Linked DNA regions of Homo sapiens: regions 1, 3 and 4 are each linked to region 2. The links are contacts of gene promoters, found by promoter capture Hi-C in blood cells and fetal thymus (Javierre and others, 2016). All regions are on one chromosome and are shown on one strand. Each heading gives the region's core, a stretch centred on a gene start or on the middle of the fragment in contact. The rest is flanking DNA. Distances are from core to core; before and after follow the strand shown.

Region 1 (6,765 bases), core at 4,038-6,537, 130 kb before region 2:
TTACAGGACATAGTATAATAGTTAGGTGCCTGAGTCATGGTTAAGCGTTGAAGAAATTTTTTGAACCACTGAAATAAGTCAACTTAAATTATTCAAGAAAATATCCCTTCATCCATTCACAGTGAAGGCTTTGACTACTGGTTTGACACTATAACCATTTAAATATTTTAACTATGTTAGCTACAAAGGCAGGCAATATCCAACTTTCCTCTGCTAACAAGTTAAAAGACATTTAATGAGATTCTGGACACAAAGGACATGGAAATGTAGGCTTTCTTAATTTCCCCCTCCTTTAACATCCCAAATAAATAGCTTTGAGAACATTTTTCTTCCTTTAGTATTACCACTATGGAAAATTATTTTAGAATAACATGTCTATACATAAACCAGTATTTAGTCTGCAAAGGCCAGATGTTTATGGAAAAAAAACCAAGTAAAGGAAAAGCATCAGTAACTATTCTGCCACTATTATTTACTCACTGGTGGTGAATAGCCTTCGTCAGATTATCACAAAGAAGGCTTGAGCGATTCTAAACAATGTTGAAAACAACTTAACCAATACTATAATATTATGAATATATGGATAGTTTCTACTTAATTAAGCCCTTACTTTGTGCCAAGAGCTGTTCTGAGTGTTTCATATGAGTTGATGTATCATTTCATTCTCATAACAATCCTATAAGGCAATTATTCTTATCATCCCAATAAAGCAATTTGTGTAAGATCACACAGTAGAGCTAAACGATCTAGAAAAATGTGTGATCTTAACACATATTTAGTAGAGAAAAGGATCATCTTTTTCTTGAGATGAAAACCCTAACCCATAGAAGAAATACTCAACTTCCCAAAAGTCATGACAAGAACAGCTTGCAGAATGACTACACTTGGTAGAAAACTATAGAATATGAATTCAAATGACTTGCAACAAAAACTCATGGCCCATTAATTACTGGTCAAGAGTTCTGTGTATAGTAAGATAATATTCTACAAGAAGACCATCAAATATGCTACAATAAGACATATTTGACTCATGTAATCAGGGAACTCCATTCACATGGCCAAGTAGGGCAAAACGTTTTCTTCTAGGAAACTGATATATAGACACTAGAAGAGAGAGGGAGTTTTTTTTACTTTTTTTTTTTTTATATTACAAACTGTATGGATGCAGGTATGGGGATGCTAGCCGTCCTCTTCCACACCATACAGACAGCCTGTCAGTGGCAGAGTAAGGCCAGCATGCAAATAGAGCAAAGGTATACAAGCCAAGTAATATCAAGACAAAAGTCAGGGATTATTACACTCTGAGATCATTTGAGACTCTAGATTTGTCTCTTAAACCAAAATTAGATTGTGTTAGCCAATGACTACATTTTCCCCTCTTAAACTAGATTGAGTTGTATTTTGCTACTTGCAATAAGAAGAATCCTAATATACTTATCAAATTGCCAGTGTTCCAAATTTAAAACTTTAATGATGATAAAGTTCAAGAAAATGACACTCTAAAATACAACTAGGTCAAACTTTCTAGAAGATAAACAGGCAATTACATTGAAAGCTTTAAAATGGATACTTTTTGACCCTGTAATTCTACTTCTTCTAATTTATTATTAAGAAAGAACCATGAGGCCGGGCATGGTGGCTCACGCCTGTAATCTCAGCACTTTTCTCACTTTTTTGAGAATAGGTTTGATAAAAAGGCAGTAATGGTAAAACAGACTATATCTGAAATCTGGAGAGTATTAAGAGCCATATATTATGTTAAGTACCCAACATTAATATTATCTAATTTAACCATCACCACAAGCCTACAAAATTCTGATACTCTTCCTCACTATTTAGATGGGAAAAAATGTAGATGTAAATTTTTTAAAAGCAGGTTAAAAACAGTACTCAGTCCCTAATCCTACAGTTATTAACATACAGATGTAACACAGAATTGAGAAATAGTAGACAATGGTCTCTACATAGTGAAAAAGCAGGTGATTTTTATTTCTTTGTGCACCTGTGTAGTTTTTAAATTTTTTCCTCCAAAATTTTAAAATTTCATTAACATTAAAATAGTTTAGCCAGATCAAATGATTGTAAACACACTCAGGGAACTCCTATTTAAATGGTATTCTATTATAAAGCAAAGAGAATAATCAATGCTCTTCTATTATAAAGCAAAGAAAATAAACCCCAACCTTACTATAAAGTAATAGAATTTAAATATCTATATCAAAAAAAGTCAAAGGAGATTCTTTAACTTTCTTCTTACCAATCAGTGAATCTCAGACAGGGAACTAAAGAATTAAAACATTCTTTTTAATTTTTTTTTTTTTTTTTTGGAGACAGCATCTCACACTGTCATCAGGCTGGAGTGCAGTGGCGCGATCTTGGCTCACTGCAACCTCTGCTTCCCAGGTTCAAGCGATTCTCCTGCCTCAGCCTCCGAGTAGCTGGGATTACAGGCATGTGCCACCACATCCTGCTATTTTTTTTTTTTTTTTTTTGTATTTTTAGTAGAGACGGGGTTTCTCCAAGTTGGTCAGGCTTGTCTTGAACTCCTGACCTCAGGTGATTCACCTGCCCCGGCCTCCCAAAATGGTGGGATTACAGGCAGGAGCCACCGTGCCGGGCCGACAATATTTCTAAAGAAACCTTTTAAAAACCTGCATTCTCTTTGTTCATCCAATTATTCAATCATTGTCTCATTTGTTAATTCAAATACTTATTAAGAGCTCACTGTGTACACCACGTACCAGTATTCACACCACAGATTTCTTTTTTAATTTTTTTGAAACACAGTCTTGCTCTGTCACCCAGGCTGGAGTGCAATGGGGCGATCTTGGCTCACCGCAACCTCCGCCTCCCAGGTTCAAGCAATTCTCCTGCCTCAGCCTCCTAAGTAGCTGGGATTACAGGCACCCGCCACCACGCCTGGCTAATTTTGGTATTTTTAGTAGAGATGGGGTTTCACCATGTTGGCCAGGCTGGTCTCGAACTCCTGACCTCAGGTGATCCACCCACCTCGGCATCCCAAAGTACTGGGATTACAAGCATGAGCCACCGCGCCCAGCCCACAAATTTCAAATTCAGCCTACTTGGGATTTGGTCCACTGAAACATATCCAGTTTTATAATGGAAAGGGGGAGGGTAGAAATCATTTTAAAGAAATTTGCTTAGCATCTGAATTTACAAGACTCTTAAGAACAGAAACGTATCCCAACCCTCAAAGACTTCAACTTTCGCCTTTAAACCTTATTTTTAACCATAGTATTTTTCAGCTGGAAAAACAAATCCTCCCAAACTACTTGGAAAAAAAAAAGGGGGAAACACGGGGGACCTGTCCTTAATGAGTGAAAATTGCAATATTAAATACTAGACACTTTTAAATTAATTTGCCTAAATATATTGTGACTTTTCAAACAAGTGAAGAACTACATACAGTAAACTATGTTCCATCACTACATTTTCCCATTTACAAGATAATAAATTTTCAAAATCATATGTTGAAATAATCTTTATGGTTAAAACTGTAACCGGTTAAGGTGAAATTTTAAAATAAAGAAACACTCATAAATAACAGTTGAGATCACCAGAACAGCTAAAAGCTAACATCTTGGGAACAGTTTTTAATAAAAATACATTATTTCAATTATTGTTTTAAATCTTAGAGAACAAATTTCCTAATTAAATTGGGCTTTATCAACAATAGAACAGGTGTACACTATTTTACCCAAAAAGTGTTTCTGTGAAAAAGTACTGGCATAACAAATCTAAGTCACTAGAAAAATTGAATTCTCCTTTTAGAGGTACTTACTCTCCTTTCAGTTAAAGCTTCCACTGGCAAACTGTAGTTAGCTTTCAGCTGGTTAATTATCCACAAACAAGCCCTTAAAAACAATCACTTCAACATATTAGATGGCTACCACTTTGCCACATTAGATGGCTAAGAAAGAAAGAGAAGAGAAGGAAGGAAAGAAAGAAAACAAGTGTTTAGAAGGATGTGGAGAAATAGGAACCCTTGTGCACTGTTGGTGGGAATGTAAACTGGTGCAACTGCTATAGAAAACAATATGGTGGTTCCTTGAAAATTAAAAAGGGTTACCATATGATCCAGCATCCCTCTTCTGGATATGTATCCAAAAAAAGTGAAAGCTTCAAAGAGAGATTTGCAGACTCATGTTCAGAGCAGCACAATAACCAAGATGTGGAAGCAACCCAAGTGTCCGTTGCTGGATGAATGGAGAAACAAAATATGGAACATATAATGGAATATTGCTCAGACTCAAAAAGGAAGGAAATTCTGACACATGCTACAACATGGATGAACCTTGAGGACATTACACAAAGTGAAATAAGCCCATCACAAAAATATTAAAACCCTATAATTCTATTTATATGAGGCATCTAGAGTAGTTAAATTTGCAGAAACAGAAAGTAAAATGGTGGTTGCCAGAGGCTGAGGAGAGGGGGAAATTGGGAGTTGTTTAATGGGTAAGATTTCAGCTTTGCAAGATGAAAAAGTTCTGGAAGTTAGTGGCACAATGTGAATATACTTAACACTACTGAACAGTACTTAGAAATGGTTAAGATGGTAAATTTTAGGTTAATGTTTTTGAACTACGATTTTAAAAAACAATCAAAAGCTATAAGAAAAAAGCCATGAGGTAATCACATTTTTGTTTTTATGAAACAAAAATTTTAAATTTTGTTTTAAAAATTCAGGTTTTAGATACTAGATTTCTCTAAAGGGATCATGTCTGGCAAATAAATAAGGGTTTATAAATTTCTACTGCAGAAAACATGAACATTAATACTCAACGCATATACAAAACAGTTAATTCTTGATGTGTCAAGAGACCAAGAGATATAATTATTTTTAAAATTCCAAAGCCTATAGTTAATTTAAACAATCTGACCATATTTTTACCAAAAATACTGAGCAACAAGAAGCTTGGCTTGTCTTAGTTTCAAATTCTCTTTCTAACCTTCCAGAGTTAAGCAGAAAACACATACACACACTGGGTAAAATCCACCCACTGGATAACTAGTCACAAAGTTTAAAAAATCAATTTCTTGATTGGAAACTCATCCAACATCACATTTAAATTTAGATTTTTTTATCCTGGTTAAGAAACAGACTTATGTTAATCTTAGATAAAGGGATACAGTATTTTAAGTATCTAAATTTAAAAAATTATATACTAAGAGAAGGCATCTATGAACACACAATTTAACCCAAATCTTTAACATCCATGCACATCAATTTTTATTTCACCACCAAACATAATAAACTGAGTTCTTCAGAAAAAAAAAAAAAATCAGTCAAGAGACTAAATAATCCCCCTCAGCTTTCTATACACCACTCTTGACATACAAGAATAGAATGTAACCACAAAATCTAAACCCTGAGCCGTGACACCATTAGAGTCACAGACAATGGCGTTAAAAGTAAAGACAATGGAAGTTAACAGGTAGAAAAGTTGACATTCTCCAAACTGCACAAGGTGCTCTGCAGTGGACCGTAGGAATGAACTCCAATACTTTCTCAGTCTAAAATAACTCGATAGTTCAGTAAATACACACGTGTGGAAGAGTGCATAGACTTCATACAAATTGAGCCACAAAACAGACCAGTAAGACAAGCTTGAAGTCTTGCCTTCAGATGGAACCCAATGGTCTTAACTCTGGAGAAACTCATAAGCAAAGGACAGTTTTTCTACCACGTAGCTGCTTTACTGAGAATATTTTATCAACTCATTATCTTTTACAAAGGTTAATTTTTATAAAATTGTCTAAACTTTGGCATCAAGACGAAAAATGTTTTAACTTACTGCCAGTACTAAGAATGCAGTGTCTTGCACATATCTTGCTTAAATGAACAGTAAGACTAGAATACTGTGTATGTTTGACTCTAGAGTCCAGAGTAAACTCAGTATTCTATTTGGGGAGAAAACACAGGGGTGAGCAATTGTGAAGCAGGAGGCCTCCACTAGAGTAGAGAGCAGATCAGATGCTCAAGAAAAATAACTGATACTAGGTGCCAATATAACCCAAGGATGTACTCTTTTGCCCATTGTAACAGGAAAAAAACGCTTTTCAAGCTCTGGATCCAATGTTAGTCTTTTCACTTTCAGGAGATAGAAAAGATGCATGAAGACACAGAAAAGAAACTAAAGGAAACAGCTGGAAGGACTAGCAAAAAAGAGTTTTAAGAGTTGTGGAAGTTTAAACAAGAATTTTAACAGGTAACATCTATTTTCAAGTACACAGTGTCATCAAGACTCCTGCAATGGGCTAAGTGCTTCACAAGCATTATCTCATTTAACCTTTACAATAACTGCTCAGATGGCTGCTATTCTTATCATCATTTCAAAAGGAGGAAAGAGGCTCAGAGGCATTCAGTAACTTGCTCAAGCTCACAAGTGAAGGGCTGGGACCCTTAACTCAGAGGTATCTGCCTCTAGATCCTATGCTCTTAACCACCATATGCTGCTTCCTCAAACAAAAGGACAATCAAAATAGAATCATAAGGAGAAAAGTTTGCTAATAAATGAGAGAGCTTCTTGACTTTTAATGGCCAAAGTTAATGAAGGAAATTAAGGAATATCTATTCTCAGAAATTTTACTTTAATGATTCAGTAATTATTTGTTTTGGAAAACTCTGAAGGAGTCTGGCCTGAAGCCTGAAACAGAATCATTACTCTCTTGACATTCCCTTAAAAATCTAAAAATCAAAATGCACGTGCTATTAAATAAGTTCAGCCCCTATAACTAGGA
Region 2 (6,625 bases), core at 3,422-5,921:
GGTCCAATTTGGAGGAATAAAACAGAAAAGATACTCCAATGGTGCATGGGCCAGAAAGGAAATTGCACAGCAAGGTGACTATAATTAATAATAATGTATACTTCAAAATTGCTAAAAGAATGGATTTGAATGTTTTCACCACAAGGAACTGATAAGTATGTGAGGTGATGGATATGTTAAGAGCCTGATATGATCATTTCATAATATATACATGGATCCAAACATCACATTGTATGCTATAAATATATACAATGATTATTTGTCATTTTAAGATAAAAAAATTTGAAAAATTACAGAAAGATGGTAACAGGTATCACGGAATTGCTTCTGACGTGTGTGTTCTTCAGAACTGTTTATAGAACATTTATATCCAAATACAGATTTGAATTTGGTGGGTAAGTTCTAGCACCATAATTTACACAATCTCTGGAACCTATTTGCTGGTTGAAACTGCGCTTTTTTATGAAAAATTTTAAGGCCGTTTATTTCACCCCTGACGTAAGGCTGAGCAACGTTTTAAATGAAGAGTGGACTTTGAAAGAAACATTCGTGAGAGTGCCAAAGCGAGCTCCAGGAATGAGAGGACTAATTTGGCAGCTGTCAGGACAGATCAGCTCATAGAATGAGAAGTGGGTTGAAGGAGGAGCTCTGCCTGCAAGGACAAAGCTGGGCATGTAGGTCCGATTTTTCCAGCTGCCTCTCTTCTGGGGAGCCACCCCAAAAACCCTGTGTGCCTTGCCACCTCACCTGATGGAAGTAGAATGCTACCTCTGGCACAAGGGCCATTTCTATTTTCATGGCATTAGCGGGGCCTGAAACATCCATGCTCAGAAGCTGTCAAATAACACCAGTTTTTTTTCAGCAGCTTGTCTGAGCACTCCTGGAATTCCTTTAAAATACAGAAGGATGAGTAATCCTGGTTCTCATTTCTGCAGAGAGGGCTGGGAAAGGCCCAGGCACAACCTGCCAATGTTGCAAAATTCGTAAAGCAAATCAAGTGAACAAACCTCTCCTTTTCAGATCAAAACCTGTTAAGGATTGAGGTGTCTTTTTGGCAACCCAGGGGTTATTCATATGCCTGTTTCAACTGCTCCAGTAGCTTCAGGAAATAGCAAGGTGGAGCAGCCCACAAGAAAGCCAGCATCATCCTCAAAGGATGCTCACCGCTACGAAAGAAGCAACTTGGCTAAAAACGCTTTTCAAGTAAGGAATCATTTCCCCCTCAAAGAGAGTTTCTGATCACCCCAGAAAATGATCGTGGGAACTTCTGAGTCATAGAATAAACATGAATATCAAAGAATAAGTTTACATATTTTGGGAACATGGAACACTTTCTTTTTCTAAGCCTCTGACAGCATTCCTGAGAAGTGCATCTGCCTTGAGTTCAGGGAACTGAAAATCTGTCCTTGGTTTGGCAGCTGACTAGCTCATTGACCTTGGGTTAATCATTTAACTTGGGATCGGCAATTCATAGTCAAAACCATGATTATTGTGATCCAAGAGAAGTCAGCCTGCCTGGGCATGGGGACCCAAAGGTTATAATTTTAAGGATTTCTTCCTTGGGAGTGGAGGCAAAATGCTGATAGTAATAGAGTGGCCCAGATTCAAATGCCTGAACGGTGAGTTTTACCAGGGCCCCCACGCCATTCAGTAAGCTCTCTGGGATTTTCAGTGGGCCTGGGGAGGTATAACTCACTTTGGCTCAGAGCTCTGAAAGCAGAACTTGGGTGGTTTATTAGAATATACAATGGAAGAGTTGGATGAGACCTGAGTAATGATGTTTTTGTTCACCGCTTGTCTCATCAGAGCAATCTTCTGGACACATAAATTTAATGTTCTCATCCTCTGCTTAAAACAGCCTTCCACTGTTCCAAAATAAAAGCCAAAGTCTTCAAAACTGTGTGCACATGTGATCCAGCCCCTGCCTACCTCTTTATATCTTGGTTTTCCTCGTCCCCTTTAATCCAGCCACAAGGACTTTACTCCAGTTCCTCCAATGAACTAACTCTTTGTATCCTGGGCACTCTCTAACCCCTCTTCACTTTTTTTTTTTTTTTTTTTTGAGACAGAGTCTCACTCTGTCGCCTAGGCTGGAGTGCAGTGGTGCGATCTTGGCTCACCGAAACCTCCGCCTCCTGGGTTCAAGCAGTTCTCCTGCCTCAGCCTCCCAAGTAGCTGGGATTACAGGCACCCTGCCACCACACCCAGCTAATTTTTCTGTATTTTTAGTAGACATGATGTTTCACCATGTTGGCCAGGATGGTTTCGAACTCTTGACCTCAAGTGATCCATCTGCCTCGGCCTCCCAAAGTGCTAAGATTACAGGTGTGAGCCACTGCACCTGGCCCCCTCTGTACTTTTTAATTTTTATTCTTCTTTCAACGCTCAGCTCAAATGTCACTTCCCCTAAGAAGCGTTCCCTGAGGCTTCCCCTCCCCATACACGTTAGATCAGATAAAGCTCTTGTAATATTCTTGTAGAACATCCTATTCTTTTGCTTCAGGGCCTTTATCACAATTGATAATTATATACTTACTTTTACTTATTGAATTAATTCCCAGTCTCTCTCAGTAGATTACATGCAGTGTCTGTTTCACTTGCCATTGTATCTCTAATGCCTACTACAAGTGCCTGGCATGTAGCAGACACAACTGCTTGTGAATGAATGAATGGTCTCAGTGATTCTGTAAGGATGAAGGTGATGTAGAGTAGTAGATGGCAGCTCTACTCTGGAAGTCCAGAATACTGCTCTGATTCACACCTGCAAGCCTTATTGGTCAATGACTACTGATATTCCAGCCACCCAAACAACTGCTTTCGGAGAAGCATTAATACCTGCGAATAAAACAAATCTATTCGTTTCATACATTTGGTTCAGAACACTAGGAGAATTTGAGAAGAGACGAGCCAGCCCCAAGCTGTCCTTGTTTCTTTTATTAAGAATAGGCCATGATTTGAGCACATTCTACTACTTGCCTCACTTCAGCCTATTGATGGGGGAAAAGTGAGAGTCTGTGTGTGGGGACTCTGGCTTGGCAGTGAGATCTAACACAGAAAGATCCTGAAGAAATATGCTGACAATGGGGTTTTATCTCTTCAATGCACTGGAGACAAAATCCCTGCTTTTAAAAACAACACTCATACAGAGCCAAGGATGTCCCAGAGTGAACAGTCCTAACCCTTTCTCAGCCTGCCTAAGAGCTCGTTGGTTTCAGAAGGATGAGCCAAGGACTGCTACTTAGAGACTACTGTCTAGGTCAACCCAACTGGCATAAGTAAAGCACCTACTGTTTATAGTAGGAGGCTGCAAGATAACAGGAGATGCAGACTATTGAAGGCTACTGATCTATCTGTGTAGACAGGCAAGAATAAAACAACTGGAGAAGAAATCCAGGATTACACAAAAAGAAGAGCGTGATGGTATGGTAGACTACTCCAGAACAGTGAATTTCCCCTGCATTAAGGATGAGATCCCTATGAATTGGGATCATTCAGGAAGTCTTCTTGGAGAAGAAAAGTTTGAGCATATGGGGAAAAAAAGTTGGATTGGCAAAGAGCTGAGCTGTCAGTAGCTGGGTCCTTAGTAAGTAGGCTGCATGGAGCTGGGAGTTATGCTAAAGGAGTTGTAATTTGGGATGCCTCTAATTAACCATTTTGGGAAAAATATAATAAATCCCTTTGTAGCATCTATAATAAACTGCCCAATATCTATGTGGTGGGGAAAAAGTTTTATTCTACGTTTCACGTGGATGGTGATAACACTAGGTAATCTCAGCATCTTTCTTATTCTCTTGCTAATCCAGGATTCTAAGTAATAATCACTTTGTTCTACAACCTGAATCTAGCCCTTGTACTGTGCAGTTTTTTTCTACACTTATTTTTCCTGTTGTCTGAATCAATCTCCATGGAAGCATAAGTTTTACTGAGTTTCAACCAGCTGTGTCCACCGAGGTAAAGATGGTAAAAATAAAAGGCACAGGGCATATATACCACAGCAGCAGTTACTTCCCACAAGGAACCAGAGATTGGAAGTGAAGCTAAAACATTTTCAGCTACGATAGCATCTCTTTCAAGGTGAGCCATTTCCCCAGGGAGAGTTTCCAGCTCTTAGCAAAGGCAGAACAATAAAACATCAAGGATGTCTTTCTAAGGCTGCAAACAGAATAGCCAATACCTTGAAGCTGATCTGCTTCAGAGTCCTTTAAAAGCCAGGACAGCAACAAAGTGCCCACATTACATTTTCTACAAGCTTGCTAAGCATCTCTTTTCCTAAACCACAAAACCCGAGACATTTCTACAGAACAGGCAGAAAGGGAAGTCCTGGGAGATCAGGGCCCTGTCTCAGCAGGCATCACTCCAGCCTGTCTTTTCCCGAGTGGTTTTCTGCACTTCTCTTCCATCTTTTCCCCTCTGTCCCACACTGGAAGTCACTAGTCTGTGCCCTCCTTACCTCCCATGGTTTCTGCACCTTCATTTCCAAAGGCAAGTGAAAACAGTGCCAGGCTGCGCACATGGGTTACTCCAGGGACTTCTCTTCCCGTTTCCCCTAAAGCATTTGACAGTTAGATCTTGGAACTGAGTCCAGCAGCACTGAGGTCAGAGAGATGGCTAAAGCTAAAAGCAAACTGGATGCTGTTCAGGAGGTTCTCCTTTGTCATTTTTATCTCCAAATAGAAGACCTCTGTTTTCCCAGAAGATTAAATAGTAGAAAAGAAGTAGCCCAAGGTGGGTGACTCTGCAAACAGGTGGGTGAGGTCTCTAGTTGAGTGAGGGGGTGTCTGTGGGTTGTGGGTTCTTCTTATGAGCAGAGCTTGGAGGAATTTGTTCTATTTGTTGTGGTTTTCCCAGGGGGAAGTCGGGGGTGGCTGGGACTCTAATGATCATTATCAGAAGACTTTGGATTAGGCCTCTGAAACTTTAAGATGTGGATCCTCTCGCAATCATGTTAAAATGCAGATCTCCTTTCAATAGGTCTGGGACAGAGCCTGGCTTTTCTATAAAGCTTCTGGTGATGGGATGTCGCTGGTTCTCAGCCACAATTTGAGTAGCAAGAGGTTAGCTTTTCTACTTACTGCCTTCATATCCCCAGTTGGGCTATGTCGTTTTATCAAAACAATGTGGTAAGAGTGAGCGCCAATTACTAGCCTGTTGAATCATCCATTGTTAGAGCTGTTTCTTTGAGGTACATTTAAGAGGCCCCTCCCTGTGGTTCCCCATTGCACAAGAAGCCCATTTGCCAGGCAATACCTTGGGCAAGCAAGCCACTGTGCAAAATTGCATTGGCTCTTCCTGCTGCCAGCCAGGCGGCTGCTGGTTGACGTTGGAGTTGTACAGTTTATGTGATAGTGATGACAGCGCTGGCTCTGAAGGGTACTGAAGATTTTGAAGGGGTACTTCGCTGCAGCAGCTTCACCTCTCACTTTTGTTTACCCACCCCCGAGGCTTGTGGGAGAGAAGGATCAGGCAGAGCTCTGCACGTGCCATGCCAGGGGTGGAGGAATTATATTTTTATTTTTTGCTTTCTCTGCTACAGGACATACCATGCCTTTTACAGATATTTATAGGACAATTTCCCTCCTGAGAGTGCCCAAGCATGGGGGATGGTGAGGAAGATGACTGAAGGAGAAAGCAGGAAAAGGGGGTGTCTGCATGTATGAGGATTGGAAGGTGGGGAAAACCCTTCGTGTTTGGTTCAGCCTTCAAGAAAGAGGAGGGGTTGACTAGATTACAGATGTTAAACCAGGGGTCTGTGGTTCAAACCAGCAACTCTCTGCCCTTGTAAGCTGTATCTGGCTGGTGTGTTAATTTGTCTAGGGTAAGAGCCCCTAGGTTTCAACAGATTGTCCTAGAGTCAATGATACACAAAAGGTTAATCAGCCTCATTTCCAATCAGGATCATCTGCAAGTCCCTCCCAGAGCAGATATTTGGAGCACTAGGCTTCTAGAAGCAGCAGACATCAAGTTCGGGCCATGGGATTAGGGTGGACAGGGCAGCCACTTGGAATCATTTTCTACCAGAGGCAGAAGAGGCTCAGCTAGCAACAGCCCCATTTTACAGAGCAGAAGCCGAGCTGCAGTCAATTCAGTGATTCCTCCTAAAGTAGGGAGTCAGAAGCCGAGCCTGGACTGGAACCTCGGCCTCCTAGCACACAGAGCACAGGTCTACATTGGGGAAAAGCCCCTTCAATCTGGCAGTTGCCTGGAAAGCGCAAGACATTTGCGGCCAGAGCGCCAGGAGCCCAGCTGGTTATTTCTAGCTTCCTGAATGTCAAAAATACAGGCCGCTTCTCAAAGCAGCCTCCACTTGTCAGACCAAATCAAGGCATCAGCGCGTCAAGCAGGCGAATCCTCTGCCCCAGGCACCAGCCTGGGGGCGCACGCCCTGCCTCCGCCCCGCCCCACACGGCGCACCTGACCGGTTCCCGCGGTGCGCCTAACCGCGGGCGGGCGAGCGCTGCACCCACGCACCCGGGCGTCGCTCCCACCTGCACCCCGGCGTCACGCCTGAGCGCAATCTGCAGCCTTCACCCACCTGGGCGGCTGCCTGGCTTTGTTTAGAGTTGGAGTCAGCCCGGCAGCCTGCCTTGGCCGAGTGTGACTAGGGAGCTGGTCTCTGACCCTAGCG
Region 3 (6,071 bases), core at 1,549-4,048, 180 kb after region 2:
AGGTTCATCTGTTCTTTTTACCCCCGCATTAGGCATAAACCTTCACACAGCACATTGTATCATCAAACTTTGAAGAAACCACTGTTACCACCAATGCAAACATTACTTTTCAAAGCCTTTTGTGTTCTGTTCTTTCTTCTAACTTCATTATCAAACATTTTGGTGCCAATTTGGAAGACGGTAAACAATCTGGTGAAACAGTCCCTGGCATACAGCAAGCACTCAGATACTATTTCACAAGTAATATCTTAGCAAAATGGGTGTTCATTAAGTAAACCTTCAGCATAGTTTGGTTGGTTTGATAAACTATAATTCATGAGCCAAAGTACTTAAATGTTGATGCTCCACAGAGTTCTGCTGCTGGTCAGCCTTGCTGGTTTTCTTGCTAAATCTTCTCAATGGGCCTCTTTATCCATGTGCCTGTCTTCCACCTGGCACCTGGAGCTACATCTCAGGCCCAGGCATCTTGCCAAACTCCGGAATCTTATTTCCAATTTCTCCCAGACATTGCAACTTAGATTTCCCACAAGCACCTCAAACTCCACTTGTCCAAAGCTGGATTCATCATCTTCTCCCAGTTTCTACCCTGGTAAATGACTCTGAGGCACCATCTGAGCATCATCTGAGACTCCTCTTTCTTCATCCTCCACATCCAGTGGATTGCTAATTCCTACTGATTTTACTACACAGACATCTCTCAAAGCTGTCCCCCTCCTCTCCACCCCTACATATTCCAACCTAATTCAGGCCCTAATAATCTTGCCCTGAGACAACCTTCCAAGTCTCTATAATGGTTCTCCACACCTTAGATCTAGTCTTATCAACTAACACCCCTTCCCCACCCTTGAACTTACTGCCACCAAATCAGATCTCTGCTTAAAACCCTTCACTGGTATCTTATCATTTCTATTAGCCTACAAGTGGTGTGAACATGCAATTTATTGTCTGACCTGGCACCCTTTTGAAAGTGAACAGTGGCGCTGTTGTATAATTATTCTGGTGTAACCAACAAACTGAGCCTGTCCTGGGCAAGCCCACACATAAGCCCTCCGAAATCTCTGGCCACATCCCCCCATCCCACTCCCCAATCTTCAGCACCTCCACACCCCCTACCTTTAGCACCTCCACACTCCTTTTCGTTTCTTGTACAAACTGTCTCCCTCTCTTGAACTCTGTTCCCTTCTAGGCACAGTCCTATTTATCATTCAGACTTGTTTTAAACATCACCTCCCCAGAAAAGCTTTCTCTAAACCCTCCTGGCCAAATTGATTATGTAGTCCCATGTGCCAACACTATGCACTGGGCTTATTCCTGCCATGGGACCTGGCTCCCTGCATTGCATACATAATATGTATCTGCCTTCCCTCCTATGAGCTCCTGTGAGAGTGTCTATGTCTCGTTCATCTTTATCTCTCCAGCATCTATGATGTGATTACAGGTCTGCACCCAGCAGGTTTTTCTTATGTCACTTCTCAATCATGTCTTACATTTAACAAAATAGTTTTGCCTGAGCTAATTCAGTATAATTAATGAAAAATTAAAAAATGAGGTAAGTAGCAGTCAGTAGCCCCAATACCAGCCTTGTATATCACAGACCACCGTCCAATTTAAGTAATTTTTTTTAAAGGAGTGCTTTGAGATTATAGAATCTGAGCTTATGGCAGAACCCGCATAGGAGATCATGAAAACAGGCATGGAGATAAGCCAACATTATGCTAGCCACTGTCCATGAAATTCTTGAGGCTTCTTGTATAAAATAAAGTCTTTTCTTTTCTTTTTTTTTTTTTTTTTCTGAAACAAGGTTTCACTCTGTCACCCAAGCTGGAGTGCAGTGGCACTATCTCAGCTCACTGCAACCTCCACTTCCCAGGCTCAGGCAATCCTCCCACCTCAGCCTCCCAAGTAGCTGAGACTACAAGTGTGCACCACCACACCTGGTTAATTTTTGTATTTTTTGTAGAGATGGTGTTTCACCATGTTGCCCAGGCCGGTCTCAAACTCCTGAGCTCAAGCAATCTGCCTGCCTCAGCCTCCCAAAGTGCTGGGATTACAGGTGTGAGACACCACGCCTGGCCATAAAGTCAATGTTAAGATAAAACGAACCTGCTGAGTATACAAGATGGTCCCAGGGCAGGGGTAGGGGAAATGACTGGGATCTCCTTGCTGTGACAATAGGAACATGGAAATGAAAATCCCACTAACATACCTTCATATAGTACTTTATAGTTTGCAAAGCACTTCCCCATATATTATATCATCTGACCTTCAAGACAACCATGTGAGACAGACTGAGGATCAGCCAACATTTCCTGAGCTTTGACAGTGCCTCCAGGATCCTAGGACAATGCCCTTTTCACAGTCCAAAACACACTGGGCAGGCCTGACCTTACACTGCTTTTCCATGAAGGCTTTCAGTATCCAAGATGGGAACTAGAGCTCCAAATGTTGCACCAGCCAACCTGTCATATTATGGCTGGACATAATCTAAGGTGGCTTCCAGGAGCGAGGTCAAGCTAGGGACATGCTCTCAGTGCCAGGTCCAGGTTGCTGCCACAGCTGTGGCAGGCAAATGCGGGGGGGGGCTCCATTTCCTTCTTACTTAACACAGACAGGCAGCCATCACGTCCTCTGCATGTGACAAGGGAGCGGTGTTTTAAAGGCAGCAGCAACGTGCAAGCTCAAGCTGAGCCCCAGTCTAGGAGCCAAAATGAAAAAGCAATGCACGCACAGAGACACAGAGAACAGATATGGGGTTCCTAAAATATACCCCACCCGTAGATTTCAATATTAAAATTTTAGCATTAAAAGTCTATTTCTCATGGATAAAGCAGCTCTTCCAGCATCTTTTAAAATATGCAAACACACCTAAGAGGAATAGAGTACTATGACATCAATCTCTATCACTGTAGTGTGAATTAGCCTATGAATTAACTGTTTTCCTTATCAGCAACTCTTTCTGGACAGGGACCACTGGGCTTCTTGCTGCAGTAAGGGACAACTGTAGGCAGAGACAAAGGACTAGCTTAAAGCAAAGATGGAATTACCAAAGATAAACTCAACTCATCTCACAATTTTACCCAGGGTCAGCTCTGAAAGACACAACTGCAATGACCTAGTAAGAACTCACCTCTAGTATGACTTACCATTTCATTCTTATTATCACTGAAACTAAGAAATAAATACAATGAGAACAATCAGATGTATTTGGTGAGCATTTAGTCCTAGAGAGTTGGCATGGCTCTAAAAAAGTCATGTAATGATTATGGCACAATCAGACCTGGTCTAACATGCATTGCTTTACTTCGCCAGTCCCTTGTAACTTAATGCAGAGAGTTGATTCAGCTCGAATGAGAGAGAATCTTACCCACTCCTCCTCCTGACCTCTTTCTCACTGTTGTGTTTCTTTCTACCATAGCTGATCCATGTTCTACGTGCATGATGAGAATGTTTTATCAACAATGTTCCATAATACTACATTGATTTTATTTGACTAGGCTAGGAACAGACTCATTTTTCTCTGTACATAAAAGATACCAAGCAAAGCAAAAAGACCTTGGAGCAGGCAGAACACCCCCCCAAATTGTAACCTGAACAGTTTTTTTTTTTATGTCAAGTATTCTAGGTTTCTGCTAAATCCAGGTTTGTGCAAAAAGACAAGATTTAATAATGCAGACGATATATTGAAAAACTTTAACATTAAAACAATTCACCCATATGAATGGGAATGGTTGGCTGAAAGGAGTGGAGAAAACTATTTCTCAAAGAAAGTGTAACCAATTTTGCAAAATGCCAATACCAAAAATACAAACAATTAAGCCACATGCTTAAAAATCTTCATGAGGTTTTAGTAATGGTGAAGTAGCTTGATATGGACCAACCCTCCCACCAAAAGATTAAAATACCTGGAAAATATATTTTAAACAACTAGTTGATGATGTGAGAGAACAACCAAAAACACATACAAACTAGAGAGAATCTGACACGTGAAGGAGGGAAACCGCATTAGGTGAGACCCACATTTGTAGGGCTTTTCTCCAGATTATTCCCCAGGTTGTGCAGGATTGGGTAAATAGAACTCAATATGGAACCACAGTTTTATTGGCTTGAAGGCAGAATTGACAAAATTCAAGCCTACCAGATGACTGGATATTGAGGGGAGAAAACCTGGAAAGATGGGGCCACAGAAAGAAGAACCTCCACATATGTAAACTCTTCAAGCCCTCACATCTTCCTAAACTGTGCATGTGCAAGGGAAACTCTAAGAGGTCCAGACAGGAGCAAGAGCTAGGATGCTGAAAGATAGGAACTGAGATTTCAGCTGTTTCCCACCCATAGGAGAAAGAGTTAGAAGCTTGAGTGACATAAAATTAATGGGCTTAAAACACCTTGGGATTTCTACTGAAACCTCACACTGGCTATGCCTTACGAGCAAAGACCATGTCCACGGACTACAGAATTGACTAATTTGACTACAGATGGGTTTAAAGATACTCAAGATTGTTAAGATGTTAATTCCCCTCAAACTGATCTATAGATCCAACACAATTTCAATTCAAAATACAGCAGGATTTTGTCTGGAAATATATAAGCTGACTCTAAAACTGATATCAAATTGCAAAATACTGAGAATAGCTAAAATAACCTTAAACATACAAAAAAGAACGGAGTTGGAGGGCTCATACTATGTAACCATAAGACTCACTATAAAGCAACAGTAATGAGACAGTGTAATACTGGCATAATGTAGAGAAAAGAAAGAGAGATCAGATGGACAAACAGATCAACAGGACAGAACAGATAATCCAGAAACAGACCCACATTATATGGTCAATTGATTTTCAACAAAGGTTCCAGGGTGATTCAAGGGGCCAGGGGAGACTTTTAATAAATGGTGCTAGAACAACTGCATTCGTGTATTGAAAAAAAATGTTTCAACTCCTCTGTAACATCACACACAAATATCAATTTAAGAAGGCATACAGACCTAAACATAAAACCTAAAACTATTTGCTTCTTAAAAAAAAAAAACAAAAAAAGAAACAGGAGAATATCTTAGTGATCCTATGACAGAGAGATCTCTGAAGACATAAAACATATGAACTACAAAAGATGAGATTAACAAATTGAACTTCATAGAAATTTAAAACTTTTGCTCAAAGACACCATTAAGAAAATGAAAAGGCAAGCCACAGACTGGGAAAAAGTAATCACAATACCTATTTCTCACAAAGGACTCATATCCAGAAAACAAAGAACTCCTCTAAATCAATAATAGAAAGACAAATCCAATTTTAGAAAACAGGACAAAAGACTGGAACTGGAAATTATCAAATAAACAAACAAATGACCAATAAGCATGTGAGAAAGTACTCACCATCAGGGAAATGCAAATTTACCCACAGGATATAATTTCATACCCACTAGAATGTCTACGATGAAAAGCAATGGCCATAGAAAGTGTTAATGAGGATATGAAGTAATTGGAACTCTCATGCATTGCTGGTGGGAGTATAATAAAACCACTTTGGAAACCATCTGGAAGTTTCTTCTGAAGTTACACACACACCTACTTTATTACCCAGCAATTCCACTCCTATATAATTATCCAAGATAAATGAAAGTGTTATGTCCAGAAAAATTTATGTGTAAGAAGGTTAATAAAAGCATTATTCATAATAGACAACAATAGGAAAAACCCCAAAAGTCCACCAAGAGGAGAATGGGTAAACAAATGGATGCTACATTTATATAATGGGATACTACTACTCAGAAATAAAATGAAAAAAATACTGATATACACAATGATATGAATCTTCTAAAAACTATGCTGAGTGAAAGAAACCAGACATAAAAGAGAATATACTGTATAATTCCATGTATATGAACTTCTAGGGTAGGTAAAACTAACCTGTGGTGAAATAAAGCACTTTACTTATTGCCTCTGGGAGCAGGGGATTGAAAAAGGGTACAGGGAAATGTTCACAATAATGGAAATGTCCTGTATCTTGGATTGGGGTGCTGGTTATGCAGTTGTATGCATTTGTCAAAATTCAAATTGTTCACTTCTGATC
Region 4 (6,639 bases), core at 1,248-3,747, 160 kb after region 2:
AAAATAGAAGGCAATGAAGTGAAGAATTAGTATGTAGGCTGTACTCTCAACATATCCGGATGAAAAAAAGGAGACAAATTAGAAAGTACCCAAGGAGATTTTTAGGAGGAGGAGGCCTGGCCATGTTTACAGATCAGAGAAAGAAAATGAGAGAAGGAAATGGAGAAGTTAAAGAAAGGGAAGCAAAGTTCGTGAGGAAGCACAGGTCTTTAGCAAAAGCAATGACAACTATCCTCTGGAACAGAGGCTAAGGACTCAGGATGGGTGGGAATGCAGATAAAGTCAGTGTAGTTGAGGGAAGTCACTCACACCTGATGCAATTTTCCAGATTAAGTAGGATCTAAGCCACTTGCTTAGAATATAGGCACAGGGTACATGGGCGGGGCGGGGGGGGGGCGCTTAAAAAGAAATGATGAAGGTTGTCATCACTGAAGGGAATGGGAGAAAAGGAGCTGGGGTGCTGGGGACCACCACTCAGAATAGAGGCCAAGGGTTTGCAGTCGTTTGAGGTGCCCAAAGGGAGAACATGAAACAGAACCAAATGCAGCATCACGGTCACACGAAAGATTGCAGAGAAAGGAGAGGTACACTTTGTAATTAGAAAGTGTCTGGGCAAGAGCGAAGCAGGAGCTGAGTAGAAAGTTGGTGGTGAGACGCAGATACAAAACGTTTGTCAAGATAGTTGGCTGCAAAGGGGGGAAAGAAATAGGATGGTAGCTGAGGATACTATGATCAGGTGAAGAATTTTTTTTTTCTGTTTAAATCACCACAGGAGAAGCAGCCAAAGGAGAGCAAGGGACTAAACAAAGTGTGGTCAGTCCAGGTAAATGAACATGTGAGAATGTGTTAAGAGGCCAGAGAGGATGGATCCACCCAGGAAAAGGTGTAGCTTCTGTAGGAAGAGAGGTTCCCTGGCAGCCAGCAGAAAGGAAGAAAAGAGATGGCCACACTGAGGGACAGCAGGCACATAAAGATGGCAGATCTTGCAGGATTTTTTCAGCAGAGTAAGAGAAAGAGAATATGAGTGGGAAAAAAAGTGGGAAGGGGCTTTCAGGTGTAAAAGTTTTAGAATTGCTGAGAAACCAACACAAGAAGAATGCTTCCGTTTTTGCTAAGTATCTGCTTAATGCCAAAAATTTATATGCCATGGGTCCAGCCAGCAACATCCAATCATCTGTGAGATGATTGCTCAGGTCAGGCATTGGCACAGCAGGCATGAAGGAAGATTAAAGGGTCAAGTGACCCCTGGGCATCACTGAGTTAGCACTGCAGGGATGACCCCACAGTCCTGGCTAGAGAGAGCACTGAGAAGATAAGTAGGAGCTTATGGTTCAGATAAATTAGCAGGGGCCAGGTTCAGGTCATATGGGTTCGGTTGAAGTAACATAAGGATGGAGTCATAGAAAAGCAACCCATGTTTCAAATCCAATTGGGGTCTTTTTGTTTATTTTCTCCATTTTCACTTTTCTACTTGTCTTTTTAAAGACAAGTATGTTTCTGCTTAACATATGGAATATAGTTATAATAACCATTTTAATGTCCTTATCTGCTAATTGTAACATCTGCGTTAATTCTGGGTCAGTTTTGATTGGTTGATTTGCTCCCATTATGGGTTGTACTTTCTTGCTTCTTTGTACATCTGGTAATTTTTGGTTGGATGCCAGACACTGGTTTTTGCCTATTGAGTGATAGTTTTGTATTTCTATAAAATCAGCTTTGATCTGGGACACAGCTAAGTTACTCAGAAATAGTTCGGCCCTATCAGATCTTGCTTTTTAGATTTAAAGCCATGCTCAGTTGGGTTAGTTATTCCCCACTAAGCAAGCAAGGCCCTTCTATGTACTCTACTCTACCCAATGCTCCATGACTCTTGAAGTTTTCCAGTCTGGTTGGTGGCAGAAGCACTATTTCTGGCCCCGTGTGAGCACCAGAAACAGTTATCTTTGCTCCTTTTGAATGGTGCTTTCCCCAGACTCAGGCAGCTTCTTTACACTGATCAGTTCTCAGAACTTTGTACACCTCCAGAGTTATGTCTTGGTGCAGCTGTCTCTTCTCTAGTACTGTATCCCATGATCTCTAGTGGCCTTAGTCTCTCTGGACTCTCAGATCCAATCCTCAACTCAGGGAGTCTGCTGGGCTCCACATGGTTCCCTTTTCCTGTGCTATAGCTTGGAAACTCTTTTAAGGCAGTTTGAAAAAACTCAGAGGTCTCACCTCATTTGTTTCCTATCTCTCAGGAATCATTGGCCTTTGTTGTCTGATGTATCCAGTGTCTTACAAATCATTGTTTCATTTATTTTGTCCATATTTTGTTTTTCACATGGGAAGATAAATCCAATACTTGTTTCAGCATTTGGCCAAAAGTAAAGTCCCCCTATAGGTTTTAAACTGAAAAATCCAAGAACCATCCCATCAGTTTAAGGCCTAATAAATACATCTGTGGCTGACTGGAACAGGGGTCCTCAAGTGTTAAGTGCCTGCCCTGTCCACTCTTTTATGCAAAGAGTTACTCTATGTCATGCCATAATCATCCGTTGACACCATTCCTATCTTGGTCACCGAGGAGGACAAGGGACTGGTACATGAACCAAAGAGACGTGTAAAGGATGAGCATGAAGGCTGGTGTCTTCTGAGGTGGCTCAAAGGTCTGCATAGTGAAGACAGCCTCTGTTGGATGGGATGGTTTGTTGGAAGTCGCTGGGGCTCAATCCTTGCTGAGCTCTGATCCACTTTCCCCAGAAGCCCACTGGATATCCAGGCTTGGAAGTCCTGACTTCAAATGACTGAAGGCCTAAGGAAAAGACAGCATCCACGATGTCTCATACTTTCTGTCCCTTTGCAATCACCCTCATTTTCAAAAATCATCTGTCCACAGCTCTTCCTGACAGGCTTCATGAGCCCAGGCAACACAGCCATTCGCACGGTTTGGAATTAGCCAGGCACACTGGTCAGTGTTGATAGTGGAAGGTGATCAGAACAGTAGGAAATGTGACCACCCAAGGGACCTGGCCATGATGGCTATGTTTATGTGTAGCTACCACAACAGGGATAGAGGTCGGGTGCGTTGCCTACAGGTAACGCTTATCTTTGAAATTAGAAGATAAGGAAAGCTCTGGGAGAGGGAAAAAGAGCATCCAATAATATGCTGGGGACTGCAGAAGGAGTAATTTAGCCACACCAGTGCTCTTTGCCTCACTCCATTGGCCACAATTGGTGCTGGAAGCAAGAAGCAAATACGCAGTTAGACTCCATTCACCAGCATCACCCCAATACCCCTAGAATCTAGGGCCTAGAGAAAAAGAGCCTTTAACAGGATGAAACCTGTCAAACTACTCAGAAGCAGCTGAGCCTAGCAACAGCCCAACGGATTTATATTACCCTACAGGCAGGCAGCATGGAGCAGAGTAAAAAGATTAACCCAAATCCACTCAAGTTAATCAACGGTTTGTCAACACATGCTCCCATTTCACATGGAACAAAATTGTAATTTTACCTTCAAAATGCATAAGAGATATTTTAATTAATAATCAAATACTAGATTTAAAGTGGATTTAACATATCACCATTTTTAAGAACGGGGTGGGGGTGAAGTCCTAAGTGAAACAAAACCTGCTCACAGACTCAAGAGATGCCATCTGGTCATTCAAAGCCAACCAAGCCTGTAAAATTAAAATCATAAAAGTCAACACACACTTTAACTTATAACTGAGAAGCTAATTTAATAAACTAAGGCAAATATTTGGGAAAAGGCCAAATGCTGTAAAAATACACAGAGTGAACCAACTCAATTTATTGGTGAATAAATAACAAAATAAACAACCACAGTCACTCCAAGTTGACAGGCAACATTTGATCAGGTCATCAGGCTGGTGACCAAACCTAACAAGCTCCTAGTAACAGGAGGAAAAGGCAGACGACAGGGGCAATGCTGCCTGACAATGTACAATGCTGGCCCTGGCTCTTACCATTCAATCTCTAGAGATAAGAAATTAATAACAAGTAGCATATACAATCTACTTTTAAAACATTTCTTTTTCCTGGGACCTAGAAACACCTTATAAACATTAACTCTTTTTTTTTTTTTTTTTTTTTTTTTGAGACAGGGTCTCACTGTGTCACTCATGTTACTCAGGTTGGAGCACAGTGGCACAATCATGGCTCACTGCAGCCTCAAACCTCTGGGTTCAGGCAATCTTCTTGCCTCCCAAGTAACTGGGAATACAGGTGCACACCACCATGCCTGGATTTTTTTTTCTTTTTTTGGTGGAGATGCCTGGCATCTCACTATGTTGCCCAGCTGGTCTTGAACTCCTGGGCTCAAGCAATCCTCCTGCTTCAGCCTCCCAGAGTATTAGGATTACAGGTATGAGCCACTACCACTCATTTATCTTAACAGAACTACAGGGAGAAGGTTCTCATTGCATTTCTGTATCTGTACTGAAAGAATCGGCCAGAGTAGGGGATGAGTTTCAAACATATCCCAAAGAGCAATTCCTTGAGCCCATGGCTGGGTCATGCTATCCTGGAGAGTAGAACTCCTGATCCATGTTCTGCTATCTACCAGCATTCCCATGGAGCACCCATGGCAGTGTGCATGCCCATGAACAGGGCTGTCTACGCCCACAGCCACCACCCCCATGGCACAGTCGGTCCTCACCAGGAGAGGCAATGCGGTGGCATCAATTAGCTGGACCCTCAAGCAGTGGCTTGGGAAAAGGTATGACATTGGCTCTGGTGGGCAGATTCAGAAAGAGCCAACATATTCCCTGTGGCCTAGCGAACAGGAAACTGACAAAGCAGCACACACTTTCCCCAGAGTTAGTGAATCCCTCCTACACCTTCCCGACCTTGCCCTGAAATTCTCATACCCACAGCTTTATAGTTGATAGCTCCTACAAAAAGCACATAGAAACACAGACCTGTATGTACTTGACACCCTCCTAGAATATGACGTCTATCCGGTGACGTTCAATAGCTGTCTAGGATTTGAAGCAATGGCCGAGAAAGGGGGCATCTGTAATCACATTTTTCCAGTATCTTTTAGATGATTCACCACCAAGTACATGGAAGTAAATGGGGCACGGATTTCCTTCCCAAGTGGGTGGGAACATAGTCTGCATCAGATCCTAATGCTACACTTTGTGGGTGTGTGCTTGTGTGCATAAGCTCATGTAACCTTTGCAGCAACCCTGGGTTTAGGTATCATTAGCCCCTTGTTTTACACATAAGGCAACCATTGCTTAAGGTCACGCAGCAAGGAAGGACAGGCAGCAGAACCAAGTCCATCTGATCCAAAACTGATGGTCCTCCCCTACCCATGCCCCTATCTCCAGCACAGCTACAGATCCCCAATAGCAATTCCCAGGAAATTTTGACTGTAAGGATTAACAGTGACACCAGAAATTAACTTTTGGGGGGCATTCAGGGAACTGTAGGCATCACTAAAAGTAGACCTATTACCTGAAAGCAGGCTAATCTTCTGATCCAAACAAATTGAAAAAATGAAGAGATTTCTCTCTCCACCATGCCCCCAAAAGCTCCCCAAAGCAGTGAGACTCTGTACTACCCAAAACCTAGAGTGGGAATGCCACTGAGTAGGATGGGATGCTGAACAGTGCAAGAGAGACGCCTGTATGGTATTCCACGAAGGGAAAGTATTTTCAGTTTTGACTTCAGTAAAGAAGTGATCCTTCTCACTAAAACATGTTTCAAAGTCTCCCCCAAGGCCACTGCACACTGCCCAGTAAACACATGGGACAAATGCTCAGATTCAGGATTGCAAACTGAGGCCAGAGAAGGAGGCATAGAGGTGTGAATTCAGAGGAAATTCAGACAACAGGGGATGTGGGACACTGGAGAACCCTGCCCTGTCTGAAGAGCTCAAGTTGGAAAACCTCAAAAGCATTATTCCATGCTGCATACAAAGCAAAACTGGTCTGCAGGCTGATTTCAGCCCATGGGCAGTCTGTAATCCCTGGCTAGAGAAAGACAGAGGCACAGACAGACAGACACAGCCAGCATGCAGTCAATATTCTGCATATCAGACAAAAGGTTCTATAAAGGCTGTACCTAAGTGTGACCTTCAAGCATTCAGAGAGGCAAAGACCAAGAATGTAGGAATTAAAAGTCTCAAATGAGGACGTCCAACACCCGAGAAAGAGGCATGGAAAAAGTGACAGCTCCCAGACACATTTGAGCAGGGCCCTGAAGCTGTTCCTTTCACACTCTGGCTGAGTGTCCCCACCAGGTCCTCACTGAGGAGGGGCTGGAAGGGGACAGCAGAGTCCTACTGAATTGCCATTCCTTAGTATGTTTAAGGAAATCAATACAGTTCCCTCCTAGAGTTAAGCTTCAGTCTTTGTCGATGAATTCTTTCTGAAGTCCTAGGTTAGAACCCCTCCAAGCATTGTTATGTTCTCCTGTGCCTGGGTGGATCCCAAGGAACCATTAGATAAGATGGTGGTATTAGACATGCAGTCCCGCCTTCAGAATGGTAGGGTATTTAGACTTAATAATAAATGCATTATTCATTTTACAGAGACACCTGAACTCATCATCTGAGTATTAATTATTAAAATCCCTATAATCCTAAGATTTAGATAAACTAAATGGTCAGAGCATGAGAATAGTCTCTGATGA

Evidence for each region. Contacts are between HindIII fragments. The CHiCAGO score rates a contact against its expected background, and 5 or more counts as called.
Region 1: a fragment that was not itself captured here is called in contact with the fragment with the promoter of LINC03033 in region 2 in 17 of 17 cell types (neutrophils, activated CD4 T cells, naive B cells and 14 more); the score reaches 34.5 in neutrophils.
Region 3: a fragment that was not itself captured here is called in contact with the fragment with the promoter of LINC03033 in region 2 in 1 of 17 cell types (activated CD4 T cells); the score reaches 8.7 in activated CD4 T cells.
Region 4: a contact is called between a fragment that was not itself captured here and the fragment with the promoter of LINC03033 in region 2, in 1 of 17 cell types (activated CD4 T cells). The highest score is 7.4, in activated CD4 T cells.

The regions. Positions count from the first base shown.
Region 1 is chr14:61,698,001-61,704,765 of GRCh38, reverse strand. All of the region lies in intron 1 of HIF1A (hypoxia inducible factor 1 subunit alpha), which reads right to left. Among named protein-coding and RNA genes, the nearest start is that of HIF1A-AS1, 5.6 kb to the right of the region's middle. The HindIII fragment of the contact is 693 bases long and covers 4,941-5,633 here.
Region 2 is chr14:61,568,586-61,575,210 of GRCh38, reverse strand. LINC03033 (long intergenic non-protein coding RNA 3033) reads right to left here and starts at 4,671. Exons shown (of 3, transcript NR_039985.1): 1 at 4,451-4,671. LINC01303 (long intergenic non-protein coding RNA 1303) reads left to right here and starts at 4,558. Exons shown (of 5, transcript NR_110416.1): 1 at 4,558-4,725; 2 at 5,534-5,667. RefSeq lists silencers at 5,381-5,573, 6,314-6,473, 6,554-6,623 and enhancers at 5,965-6,464, 6,465-6,625. The HindIII fragment of the contact is 753 bases long and covers 4,252-5,004 here.
Region 3 is chr14:61,391,802-61,397,872 of GRCh38, reverse strand. The region is part of intron 2 of PRKCH (protein kinase C eta); the gene reads right to left. Among named protein-coding and RNA genes, the nearest start is that of PRKCH-AS1, 72 kb to the right of the region's middle. The HindIII fragment of the contact is 3,111 bases long and covers 1,243-4,353 here.
Region 4 is chr14:61,407,161-61,413,799 of GRCh38, reverse strand. All of the region lies in intron 2 of PRKCH (protein kinase C eta), which reads right to left. Among named protein-coding and RNA genes, the nearest start is that of PRKCH-AS1, 88 kb to the right of the region's middle. The HindIII fragment of the contact is 7,709 bases long and covers 1-6,351 here.